Linked DNA regions of Homo sapiens: all the other regions are linked to region 3. The links are contacts of gene promoters, found by promoter capture Hi-C in human tissues and cell types (Jung and others, 2019). All regions are on one chromosome and are shown on one strand. Each heading gives the region's core, a stretch centred on a gene start or on the middle of the fragment in contact. The rest is flanking DNA. Distances are from core to core; before and after follow the strand shown. Region 1 overlaps WNT3 (Wnt family member 3). Region 2 overlaps WNT9B (Wnt family member 9B). Region 3 holds the start of WNT3 (Wnt family member 3).

The links. The method cuts DNA at HindIII sites, captures the fragments that hold promoters and counts their contacts. A contact is called where the count stands out against the background at its distance.
Region 1: a contact is called between a fragment that was not itself captured here and the fragment with the promoter of WNT3 in region 3, in 2 of the 25 tissues and cell types used here (IMR-90 fibroblasts and neural progenitor cells).
Region 2: a fragment that was not itself captured here is called in contact with the fragment with the promoter of WNT3 in region 3 in 1 of the 25 tissues and cell types used here (spleen).

What each region holds. Positions count from the first base shown.
Region 1 is chr17:46,773,108-46,776,940 of GRCh38, forward strand. It overlaps WNT3 (Wnt family member 3), which reads right to left. Exons shown (of 5, transcript NM_030753.5): 2 at 561-802. It also overlaps a transcript of LRRC37A2 not described here. Among named protein-coding and RNA genes, the nearest start is that of WNT3, 44 kb to the right of the region's middle. RefSeq lists enhancers at 1-209, 210-867, 868-1,523, 1,177-1,321, 3,039-3,714 and a cis regulatory region at 1,241-1,256. The HindIII fragment of the contact is 7,321 bases long and covers 1-3,833 here.
Region 2 is chr17:46,854,030-46,858,154 of GRCh38, forward strand. The region is part of intron 1 of WNT9B (Wnt family member 9B); the gene reads left to right. It also overlaps a transcript of LRRC37A2 not described here. Among named protein-coding and RNA genes, the nearest start is that of WNT9B, 4.5 kb to the left of the region's middle. The HindIII fragment of the contact is 5,707 bases long and covers 1-4,125 here.
Region 3 is chr17:46,816,084-46,820,220 of GRCh38, forward strand. It overlaps WNT3 (Wnt family member 3), which reads right to left and starts at 2,609. Exons shown (of 5, transcript NM_030753.5): 1 at 2,435-2,609. The coding sequence starts at 2,514. It also overlaps a transcript of LRRC37A2 not described here. RefSeq lists an enhancer at 3,664-4,137. The HindIII fragment of the contact is 29,146 bases long and covers 1-4,137 here.

The DNA.
Region 1 (3,833 bases), core at 533-3,032, 44 kb before region 3:
CTCCCAGGCTGCAAGACGGCCGGAAAGTTACCCAGAGGCCAGTGCACCCTCTAGCCCCACCATGATTCCTGGGCATATCCAGCTGACAGGGCATGAGGATGAACAGAAACCTAGAGGGGCTCTTGGGGGCAACGCAATGCTACCACAGCACCAGGCAGCTTCCTCACCTACTGAGGACTTTCTAGATGGGAGGGACCTAGGGGTGGCAATGCTCTCACCCCCACCCCAAAGCGGTATTTGCATAGCACTTAACACAGCATTGGGGAAATGTCACAAATGTCCACAGCAGGAGCCTGAGGCGCCCACTGTGCAAAAGCCAGGAAGGAAGTCTGTGGCCTTCTTGGTGTCGGCCCTCAAACCTCAGGATCCTGGAGCATCTCAAGGCGGCCCAGCCCCCAGCAGCGCCTGGGAAGGTGTGGCAGTCATGCAACCAAATTTATCACCCTCCCAGAGGGACCCTGGCTTCAGAGAAGAGGCACCCTGACTGGGGTGGAAGGGCATACAGTCCTGATCCCTCCCCCCACCCAGCCCCTCCCCCCCCCTCAGCCCCAAGGCAGTACCTTTGTCGAGGACGGGCCCAAAGATGGCCAGGCTGTCATCTATGGTGGTGCAGTTCCAGCGGCGGCCCCGGAACTGGTGCTGGCACTCCTGGATGCCCAGCTTCACGCCCTCGGCCACGCTGGGCATGATCTCGATGTAATTGCGGCAGAAGCGCAGTTGCTTGGGGACCAGGCCTGGGATGGAGCCGCAGAGCAGGGGCTGTGAGCCCAGAGATGTGTACTGCTGGCCCAGGGCCAGGGACCTGCAGGCAGACAGAGGGTAGTAACACTGTGGGCACAAAGCACAGAGCCCATCCTGGGCACCATGGCCGCTTTGTGAACCCTCCGGGGTAGGTGGAGAGGCAGAGGGCCTGTGCCCTGGCACCTGAATGTGCTACCTTTGACCTCGGGAGCATGCCGCCCCTCAAAGCGCAGAGCTCTGACCCACGCAAGTCAGCCCTCTGGCTGCATCCAGCTTGCAGGGGGATGGGACCGCAGAAGCCGCTTGTGGGGGCCCTTGGGGGCAATGCAAAGCCATGAAAAGAGGTTTGGACTAGAAAGATGGTATTTGGGGCCCAGATCCAGTCCTTTCCAGGTTCTGGGTCCAGCTTCCCTGATGGGCATTGAAGAGATCAGGCTGGGCAATTTCCAAGGCAGTCCAGGATACTGGGGCCACATGGACACTTCCAGTGACTCATGGGACACGCGCGCGCGCGCACACACACACACTACCCTTGGCAATGCCCTCAGCCTCTTCCCTGCGATGGTGCCAGCCCAGCCCAGAGCCTCCCAGTATCTCCCCAAGGAATTGCTGGCTTGCACCAAGTCCTTTGTCTACCAGGGCCTCCATGACCATCTTTCCAGTTTCCTAGAAGTTTCTAGAGCTCCACCTCTTTTCTCATGAGAGACTGGAGCTTGGCTTTGTGTCAAAACAAGTTTAGCACAGAGTCAGAAGGGAGATCTCAGATCTCACTGCCCACACCCAACACCAGGTGACTGGTCAATTCACTCCATTCCTCTGCCCCTCGCTTTGTAATCAATATCCCATCAACTCTCTCAGGTTTTATAGTCAACAACAGAAAGAATGACCTTATGGGGGTGGGGCAGAAGAGTTTAAAATACTAGAAAACCAAGGTAGGAATTACGACTTTTCCGTTCCCTGCCCTCAGCACAGGAACAGCAGAAATGACATTTTCTGGGAGAACCTGAGAAAATGATCCGTGAGTGTCAGTGGCCTTCAAGGACAATTGCAATCTGCTGTATGACCAGGGGCAGTGTGAGCTGGAAGAAGGGGCCCATCTCCTCTCCCTCTGTGTCCAGCACTGACCAAGGCTTTGGTCCAGCATTGGCCTAAGTCAAGTTTCCCACAAAAAGTGATGGGCAAAAGCCTCGGAAAGAGGGGCCGGGAGAAGACCCCATGGGGCAGGGTGAGGTTTTTTGTGTGCTTTTTAGTACACAAAAGCTTCTGGGCTGGACACAGGGCCGAGCCAAACATCTGCCATTTGGCAACTGTTACTGCTTGCCAGGCACTTTATATACAACATTTCTGATCAATTCCCAAACATGAAGAACATCACTATCTCCTGGACTAGGAAACTGAGGTTTAGAGAGTGAATTAGCTTGCCTACGGCTTTTTGGTCTGTGGTGGGTCAGAGAGTGCCATGTGCCTTCCCCCGGGTCCCTCCTCCATACTTGAGCTTGATGTTGGCCTTGGCCAATTCGTGGAGACTCCAAGGCACAGAGCTCCCTGGGCACCGTGCAGGGGCATGCTACCCATCCACCTTGGTTGTCTCCAGGCTCAGTTGTCAGGGGGAGAGGCAGGTTCTCCTTTTTCCATTTGTTTATTTTGGGTGGAGGAACTGAGGAGCCAGATCTGGGAGTTTGGATGGTAACATCTGTGAGGCATTCCAGGTCTTAAGCACTGAGCTTTTTCTAAAGAGAAAGAAGCAGCAGCCAGAAGTTCTTTTTTTTTTTTTTTTTTTTTTGAGACAGAGTCTCGCTGTGTCACCCAGGCTGGAATGCAGTGACGTGATCTCGGCTCACTGCAAGCTCCGCCTCCTGGGTTCACACCATTCTCCTGCCTCAGCCTCCCGAGTAGCTGGGACTACAGGTGCCCACCACCACGCCCGGCTAATTTTTTGTATTTTTAGTAGAGACGGGGTTTCACCATGTTAGCCAGGATGGTCTCGATCTCCTGACCTCGTGATCCACACACCTCGGCCTCCCAAAGTGCTGGGATTACAGGCGCGAGCCACCACGCCCGGCCCAGAAGTTCTGATTTATCGGTGGTAATGGCTAATTACTGATTTCCCCGGTGCCTGGCCCTGAGCAGAGGCTTTTCCTTGGGTTTGCCTCATTTAATCCTCAAAATAGCCCCAGCACAAAGTAGGGTCATTATTAGCCCCATTTTACAGATGGCTTAGCCTTGCAGGTTGATGAAGCAGCCCAGACCACAGAGCTCCTATGGAATTGCTGGTTGGAACCCAGGGTGTCAGACTCCAGAGCCCATGGGGGTCATCACTATGTGACCCTGCCTGCTGGGCAGTGCCTGCCTGGGTCTTCATGGGGTGAAGGTGGCTTCAGGCCTGGCCCATCTGCACCCTGGGCCTCCATACTGAGCACATGCCTGAGTGGGTAGAGTCAGTGAGCCCAGAGCCCTGATGGGCACACGGCGCACACAGCACTGCCCCTGCCCTGTTAGAAGCAGGTTAGAGTGATCATATAATCCCTGTGGTTTATTATGGGCCTATCATGTGCTGGACACAGTTCTGAGTGCTTGTGTCTGTTACCTTATGTAATCCTCACGGCAGGTCTGTAATAAAAACTTCATTATCATCGCCATTGTCCCATTTCCAAGATGAGGAAACTGAGGCCAGGGAGCTAAGTACCCTGCCCTGTCTGCCAGGCTGCAGAGGTCCCCGTTGAGCCTCCCTCTGGGCTCAGGCTGCCCCTCCCGTGCTCTTAAGCAGCATCTCCAGCCCAGCCCTGCTGTGCCAGCTGCCCCCACAGCCCTGCAATCACTGGAGGGGAAACTGAGGGAGAGTTCAGTGCAGACAACTCGGCCTTGCACCATCCTAGATGGGCAGCTCAGGAACAAGACCCAGGGAAGAAGCCTGGGCTGTCCCCGCTCCTTCCTCTGGTGTTTGGGACCCAGAGCCCTATATGGGACCACTGGAGCGGAGAGCTGAGGCGGGAGTGAGAGGCACTCGGAGACCCTTCCTCTGCCCTCCTCCTTCCCCTCCCGTTGCCTTCCTGCCTCCTCCTTCCTCCCCCTCTCCCAGCCCTTGCTTGACA
Region 2 (4,125 bases), core at 71-2,570, 37 kb after region 3:
CCTCTTCCAGGTCAGGAGCCCAGCTGGAAAGAGCTGACAAAAGACACAAAAGCCACCACCACCCCAATCTGGGGAGCAGGACAGATGCTCAGAGAATCAGCTAAAACTGGGGCCTCATGATGTTAAGTGTTTGGTCTCAGGGAACAGACAGGATTCAGCCTGAGCTCTCAGTTAAGAAACCCTCTGGTGACTCAGACCAGGTTTCCCAGCTTCCCATCTGCATTCGCTGTCTGGGAGGAATCTGGTATCAGTCATCTACACTGTAGTGGGAAAGTGAGGCAAAGCGCTTCTTCCTCCGCAGTCATTTGCATTTGATTATAACACAAAGTGCTTTGGCATCCTGATAAGAGAATATGCAAACATCAGGAGGGCAGGTGAGGCCGATCTTCTTGGGCTCTTTGAAATCATAGAATCGTAGACTTCAGAGTTGGAAGTGACCCCAGAAGGATCTCTGGTCCAAAACTCACTGCTTCAAGCAGGATGTATTATTATCCCAATTTTTCAGATGAGGCAACCCCCAAACCCCAAACCACAGTGAGCCAGCTGTTGGTTCTGCTGCTTTTGAGTGAGCCTAGAGCCTAATTCTGTTAATGGTGATAAAAAAAAACATAACTAGTATTGCAGTTTACAAATCTCTTTTTTCTTTTTTTGAGATGGAGTCTTGCTGTGTCACCCAGGCTGGGTGCAGTGTCATGATCTCGGCTCACTGCAACCGCCACCTCCTGGGCTCAAGCAATTTTCCTGCCTCAGCTTTCCGAGAGCTAGGATTACTGGTGCCCCCCATCACACCCCACTAATTTTTGTATTTTTAATAGAGATGGGGTTTCACCATGTTGGGCAGGCTGGTCTTGAACTCCTGACCTCAGGTGATCCACTTGCCTGGGCCTCCTAAAGTGCTGGGATTACAGGCATGAGCTACCATGCCCAGCCCATCACTTTCTCATACAGCCATCTCTCTCATCTGATCCTCAGAGCCATTTCTCCAGAGCCATGTAGGATGGGTGTAAATAGTTCCCACAAGGAATCTGAAGGTCAGAAAGGTTCAGTCAGTCACCCAGTGTTACACAGTGAATCGGTGGGGGAGGTTGAATAGAAACCCTGCTTCCAGTCTGGGCCCTTCAACCTACAGGAACAGCCTCCAGTGCTAAGACAGTATGATTCCCCCAGGGCAGCAGTGGCTGCAGAGAGGCCGAAGGGGGTGAGGGTGGAGGGAGCCTCCCTTCCCTGCTTAATTGACTCTTTTAGACTCTCTTGGCTGTAGTGAGATGGATAAGGCCGCACATTCTTTTCTGTCCTCAGTAGTGAGACGGGTTGCACTGACCCCTGCTAGACTGTCAGTTTGGCTCACAGAACAGCATGATGGCAGTGGGACAGGAGGCGGACCAGAGGTGAGGGTCCAAGCTAGTCCTGGCTCTGGGACACTCTCTGTGTTGTCCCTGATCAAGTCACTCATCTCCAAGGTCAGTAGCACCTGGAGGTGCTAAGGTTCCCTAATGCTAACAGGGCTGGTCCTGGCTCTGGAAGTCTAGGATTGCTGAAGAGTTTTTATTTTGGCTTTGAATGCCTAGGAATTCCACAAATGTTAACTTCTGTGATGTTGTATAAATGAAAATGCACTGCATTATGTGATGAGCTGGGCACAAGACAGGCCCAGTTACCCAATCCAGTCTATTTATTTATTTATTTAGAGACGGAGTCTCGCTCTGTCACCCAGGCTAGAGTGCAATGGTGTGATCTCGGCTCATTGCAACCTCCACCTCCCAAGTTCAACAGATTCTCCTGCCTCAGCTTCCCCAGTAGCTGAGATTGCAGGCATGTGCCACCATGCCTGGCTAATTTTTGTATTTTTAGTAGAGACCATGTTGATCAGGCTGGTCTGGAACTCCTGACCTCAAATGATCCACCCACCTCAGCCTCCCAAACTGCTGGGCTTATAGGTGTGTGCCACCATGCCCGGCCCCCAGTCCAGTCTGTAAGTTATCCGAGTGGCTTTGTAACTAGAAATAGTTTCTGTGGATGCAAGTTTTTAAATCATAATTAACTTTGGTGATGTTTCTTCAGTGTGTGACCTCTGCACTGGTTGAGTTTCTTTCCTCTCTAGGGATAGTACAGAGAAGTTTATGAAAGCCCAAGACAGTGAATCCCAGCTTTGCCTGTTGCTAACTGTGTGACTTTAGACAAATGTCTTAACCTTGCTGAGCTTTGGGTTATGAGAATACCTATCTGAGAGGTGAGGGTGAGGCTTAATTGAAACAATGAATGAAAGGGCTGGATAGGGTGTCTGGCACATATGTGCTAAGTGCTCAGTCCAGGCTCACTCTCAGTGGATGCTGGGGTTCTAAACATCATCCCAGGTGGTGGAAGTGTCATTACTATAATTCCATTGGAGAAACAAAACATAATCTTTATTTTCCCCCCAAATCGTTGTTATATACAATGAAATGCATGCTTTTTCTTTCTTTTTTTTTTTTTTGAGATGGAGTCTCACTATGTCGCCCAGGCTGGAATGCAGTGGTGCAATCTCGGCTCACTGCAGCCTCCGCCTCCCGGTTCAAGTGATTCTCCTGCCTCAGCCTCTCAAGTAGATGGGATGACAAGTGTGCGCCACCATGCCCAGCTAATTTTTGTATTTTTAGTGAAGACACGGTTTCACCATGTTGGCCAAGCAGGTCTCAAACTCCTGACCTCAGGTGATCCACCCACCTCAGCCTCCCAAAGTGCTAGAATTATGGGCGTGCACCACCACGGCCAGCCAATGCATGCATTTTAAATTGCACAGTTTGGGTTTTAACAAATTATACACCTGTGTAACACATTTGTGGTGACTCCAATGACTACATAGAACATTTCTACCATCCTAAAGGATCCTTTGTTCCTCTTTGCAATCAACCCTCTCCCACCAGCCCATGGCTACTCCACTTCTCCGCTTTCAGTCACTATGTGTTAGTTTTGCCTATTCTGGAAGTTTATATCATGAAATTGTGAGTATATAGCCTCTTTTGCTTGGATTATTTTGCTCAGCATAAAGCTTTTGAGATTCATCCATGTCGTTGAATATAGCAATAGCGAATTCCTTTTTATGGCTGAGTATTCCTTTGTATGGCTATACCACAAATTATTTATCCATTCCCCACTTGATAGACATTTGGGTTATTTTGGCTGGGCGTGGTGGCTCATGCCTGTAATCCCAGCACTTTGGGAGGCCGAGACGGGCAGATCACTTGAGGTCTGGAGTTCGAGACCAGCCTGGCCAACATGGTGAAAACCCATCTCTACTAAAATTACAAGAATCAGCTGGGTGTGATGGTGGTGGTGCATGCCTCTAATCCCAGCTACTCAGGAGGCTGAGGCAGGAGAATCACTTGAACCCAGGAGGCAGAGGTTGCAGTGAGCCAAGACTGTGCCACTGCTCTCCAGCCTGGGCAACAGAGCAAGACTCTGTCTCAAAAAAAAAAAAAAAAAAAAAAGATATTTGGGTTATTTGCAGTTTTGGACTATTCCAAATAAAGCTGGTATAAACATCCATGTACATCTCTTTTTGTGGGTGTATGTTTTCATTTCTCTTGGATAACTGTCTAGGAGTGGATTGTTGGATCAGATGGTTGATATATGCATAACTTATAGAATTGGCATTTTTCAGAGTGGTTTTACCATTTTACACAGTAATGTATGAGAGTTCCAGTTGCTCCATATTCTATGGTCAGCTATCATCAGTTTTAACTTGTGGCTATTTTCGTAAGTATGTAGTAGTATCTCATTGTGGTTTTAATTTGTATTTCCCCATTGATGAATGGTGTGTTGAACATTTTCCCATGTGTATATTGGTCATTTGAATATCATTTCATTGGGTTATTTGTCTTCTTATTGAATTGTAAGAGTTCTTTATGTATTTTGTTGTTGTTGTTGTTGCTGTTGTTTGAGATGGAGTCTCACTCTGTATCCCAGGCTGGAGTACAATGGCATGATCTTGGCTAACTGCAACCTCCACCTCCTGGATTCAAGCAATTCTTGTGGCTCAGCCTCCCAAGTAGCTGGGACTACAGGCATGCGCCACCATGCTCGGCTAATTTTTGTATTTGTAGTAGAGATAAGGTTTCATCATGTTGGCCTGGCTGGTCTTGAACT
Region 3 (4,137 bases), core at 1,359-3,858:
CACTGTCATGAAGGCATGCGCGCGCACGTACACACACACACACACACTCACACACACGCACGCACGCACACACACACTCACATGCCCAGTCATGAACACAGTCAAGCCCAGCGTCACAGGCAGACACAGGCTCTGACCTTTACATGGGCAAAGATACTTCTAGACTTCTCTCTGTCTCTTACACATGTACATACACACATCACAGCACCAGCCACTTGCTCACACTCGTGTGCAGACACACACAGCACAACCTGTCGTGGGCATGGATCCCCCAACACGCCCACACGATTTCACATCCATAGTAGCCCAGTTGCAGGCACAAACACTTTTGCACACAGAGACACACTGGTGTATAGAAAACACCTCTTAGGGTCATAGACCCAGAACACACGCACACACACACACACACACACACACACACACACACACACACCTCTCTCCTTGGCTTAGACAAAGCAGCATTCCTGTCCCCCACCAAATTCCCAAACAAGCCATGTGTCTAGCATTATGTTAGGGCCAATGTCTTGACCTTCCAGGTTTCCCCAGCGTTTCTTCCTATTGGGCAATCCCTATCTAGATGGTCCCCAAGATACCATTTCACACCAGAATCTACACCAACTGGAAGAGTGCCCTCTTCTAGTTCATAGGGCCGGAGAGACTGGTCTCTCTTCCTCAGTCCCTGCCACCTATGGGCCGCCAAACCTTTCCTTCCTACCCTCCCCCAACCCACCAGAGTCTCTGCGAAAGCAAGGCGAAAAACGGCATGGCCTTGGCCCGGGAATGGGAAGAGGGTCAGGAATGGCCGGGTGAGGCTGGACTGGTGTTGGCAGCAGCCTTTCCCCAGACTGGCCGAACCTCCTTCCTGAAGTCCCTGGCTGCCCTGGCCACCCCATGGACTTCTTTATGTGCTGGAAGCCTCAGGTTAGCCCAGCCCCCCGGAAAAGTGTGGGTTGGGCAGAAGAAAGACTTCCCCTTGGCTGGCTGTCCTGGGAGCAACTCCTAGCACCCTCTAAACAGAGACCCTTGGCCATGTCCCCACCCTCTCTCCCAGGAGCCCCAAACACCCAGACACAAATGCTGCCATCCCCAAACAACTGGAAGACTCGGGGTGTGGCCCCCAAGTCTCGCTGTCTCTGCTCCTCCTACCCTGGACTCTGGGTTGGCGAAAGGCAGGGAGTCTGGGGACCTGCAGGCGGTACCGCACCGTGGTGGCACTTCTTTCTGACTTTCACCCCGGGGGCCACAGCCCACTTCTCACTCACAGATCCCAAATTCTTCCTCCTCACCTCCCCCCGCCCAGGCCAAGGCTCTCCTATGTCCAGGAGGGGAAGATTCTTTAATTAAAGTTTTCCGGAATGTAGGGGGCTGGAGACTGGGGAGAGGCGGAGTGTAATTTAGAGAACTGGTTTCAGTGTCTTCCCCTCTGGCCCCTGGGACCTGCGGAGGGTGGGAGAGCGGCGATGGGGCCGCTCGGAAAACAAGGGGACTCCTGGAGCTGGGGCTCCCAAAGCGATGTTTATTCCTCACCCAGGCCCCCCAGACACGCACAGCCCCCCCCAAGCACTGCTCCCGGCTTCCCAGTCTTATTTACTAAAATGTCTTTTGTATCCACATTTCTCAGGGACGGAATTCTCCCTTCCCTCTCCCTTTCTCCTCGGTCCTCGGTTTTCCAAAAGGAAGAAATGTGACATGGAGAATTGGATTTTTGGTCAAAGAACAACAAGCCTACCCCTCCCAGACAACACATTTTCAAGGAACCCCCCTTTTGCCAGGGTGGACAAGCAAGAAATGAATAAAATCCGAATTCAATGGCATCCCGGATCAGCAAATACCATATTCACTTCAGAGGCTCAAGATGAATCTAGAGCGGTGGGGAGAATCTGATGAAATCCCCCCACCCACTCCCCTGCCCCGGGAGGAGCCCTGAAGCCTTTGGGGTCTGAAATAGGAAGGCAAAGGGGGGTTATTATGGGGAATCTCTTGATGGAGGCGCCGGCAGAGGTGGGGTGGCAGTGAAGGAACAGGATGGTTTTGCCCATGAAGACCCCAAAATGGAGAAGAGGAGTGGCTGGGCCCCAGGGACAGTGCTGGATTTCCAGAAACCCAACTGCAAGCAAATGGGGGGTCTTCGGGGGCCTCTAGATTGGGACGGGCAGAGGGTTAGGATCTAAGAATAAGAAACCTTCTGAGATGGGAAAAGTCCTCCAGCCCCTGCAGCGGGGAGCAGGGAAAATGGTGATTATCAGAGGAGCCAGGAGTTGGATTCTGAAGGCGACACCAGCAGAAAATCCAGGAGGGGTGGGCGGGTGGGGGGCTGGAGGGAGGCGAGGAGAGGAGCCCCAGCCCTGCAGCGGCCCACCCCCAGCCGGCGCCCCCACCTTCCCCGGACGCGGCGGAGAAACCGGGCCGCGGGCAGACAAGAGGCGAGTCTTACCACCAAATTGGGTAGCCAGCGAGGACCCTGGTGCCACCGAGCAGGAGGCCGAGGAGCAGCCCGAGCAGGTGGGGCTCCATTAGAAGAGGCGCCGAGGAGGAAGTTTGCCCGCGACCATGAAGAGGGGGAGCGACGCCCCCAATAGTTGGAACAAAGTCCACTTGAGATTGGAAATGACTTTCGGGCTTGTCAGAAGCGCACCTCCACCCGCAGCCGCCCCCCTCCCGAGCCCAGCGCGGAGCAGCCGGGTTTGAGGATGTCAGCGAGCAGCCAATCAGCGCCCGCGGCCTAAGGTAAGAGATGAGTCTGTAGTTCAGCCTGTCAATCACGCGCCCCTCCCGCCCGGCCCACAACTCGGGCTCCGGGAAGGGCATCGCCCAGCAAACTTGGGCAAAGCCCGCGCCCCGGACGCCGCGGGGCTTCGGGGGGACGCGGTGGGCCGGACCCTCTGCTACCGCCGCGGTCCCCCGCTGGCCAGGGTTAGGGCGCGGGGGCTTTGACCCGGGCGTTCACATGGCGAGGGCTTGGCGTGGGCATGAACGGGTGGCTCCTTTGCTGGCGGGGACCGTGACCCGTTGGGACGTGGGCCCGCGAGGAATCGAGGGTAGAAAGCACAGGGATGTTTCCAGAAGCCCCGCTCGGGCAGGTCAGGATCAGAGGGTGGGGGAACGCACCCCCTCCCAGCTTCCAGCCTCCCGAGTCCGCCCGCTCTCTGGCCTCTCGTCCTGGCCGCGGGAGGTCACTTCCCGGGTGTCCGAGGAACGTGCGGAAAAGTCCGCGGAGGCTCGAAGGTCTGGCTGCGGGCGGCGCCGGGGGACGGAGCCGAGTGTCATTTGAGTCTTTTGTCAGGGATCAGATCGGTATCGGGACCTCCTGCTGCCTTTGCATTTCCTGCAACTGACACCAGCGGCCAGTCGCATTTCCTGCTCTCGGAGTCGGGTCACTTTCTCCTCCTTGAGGGGTTCAGGCCCGACCTCTGGCCCGGGTCGGAGGCGTGACCCACAGCCTCAGTGGGATTCTCGGTTGGACCATCAGGGACCGGTGAAACGCGCAGCTCTGGCCGAGGGCGGCCCAGGTCCTTGGAAGACCTTGCTGCCCTCCGGAGCGCCCCTCACTGCCCGACCGTCCCGCCTGAGGCCCCGGTTCTACTGATAGGGAGCTCCAGCCTGGGGTTTGGCGATAAAGGCCCTTGCCCTGTGCGGACACCAAATGCCTCCAGTTACCCACCCCTCCCCACAGGAAAGGAGTCCTTCCAGGCCCCCTTCGGGCTTGCTTCCTCTCCTCTCCCTCTCCAGAGCGAGGAATTAGGTCTCAGCCCTGGGTGGTATTGACATCATGGTCAGGTTTTGGGGACTCACGCCCGGTCACCTGGGTGCCTTTCCCTAGGCCCCCTCCCAGGCCACCTGAGGCACCAGGACTCTGCGCAGCCCCGGTCTGGGGTGAAGGAAGCACTGCCGGTGGGGAGCAGGGACCGCTGTGTAGGGAACTGTGGCAGAAAGGGCAGAGAATGAGCCGACCCGAGTCCCACAGAGGCCTGGAACGGCGGGCGTTCCACGAGGTGAGGGCCATGGCTGAAGGAAGTCTTACGCCAGGGGGCCAGACATTCCTGGCCTTTGATCTGAGCCCCCCGTACCCACAGCTCCAACCTGCTGCCCCTTCTGGTCGGCGAGCCCTCTCCGCACGCGGCTGCTGCCGGCACAGGG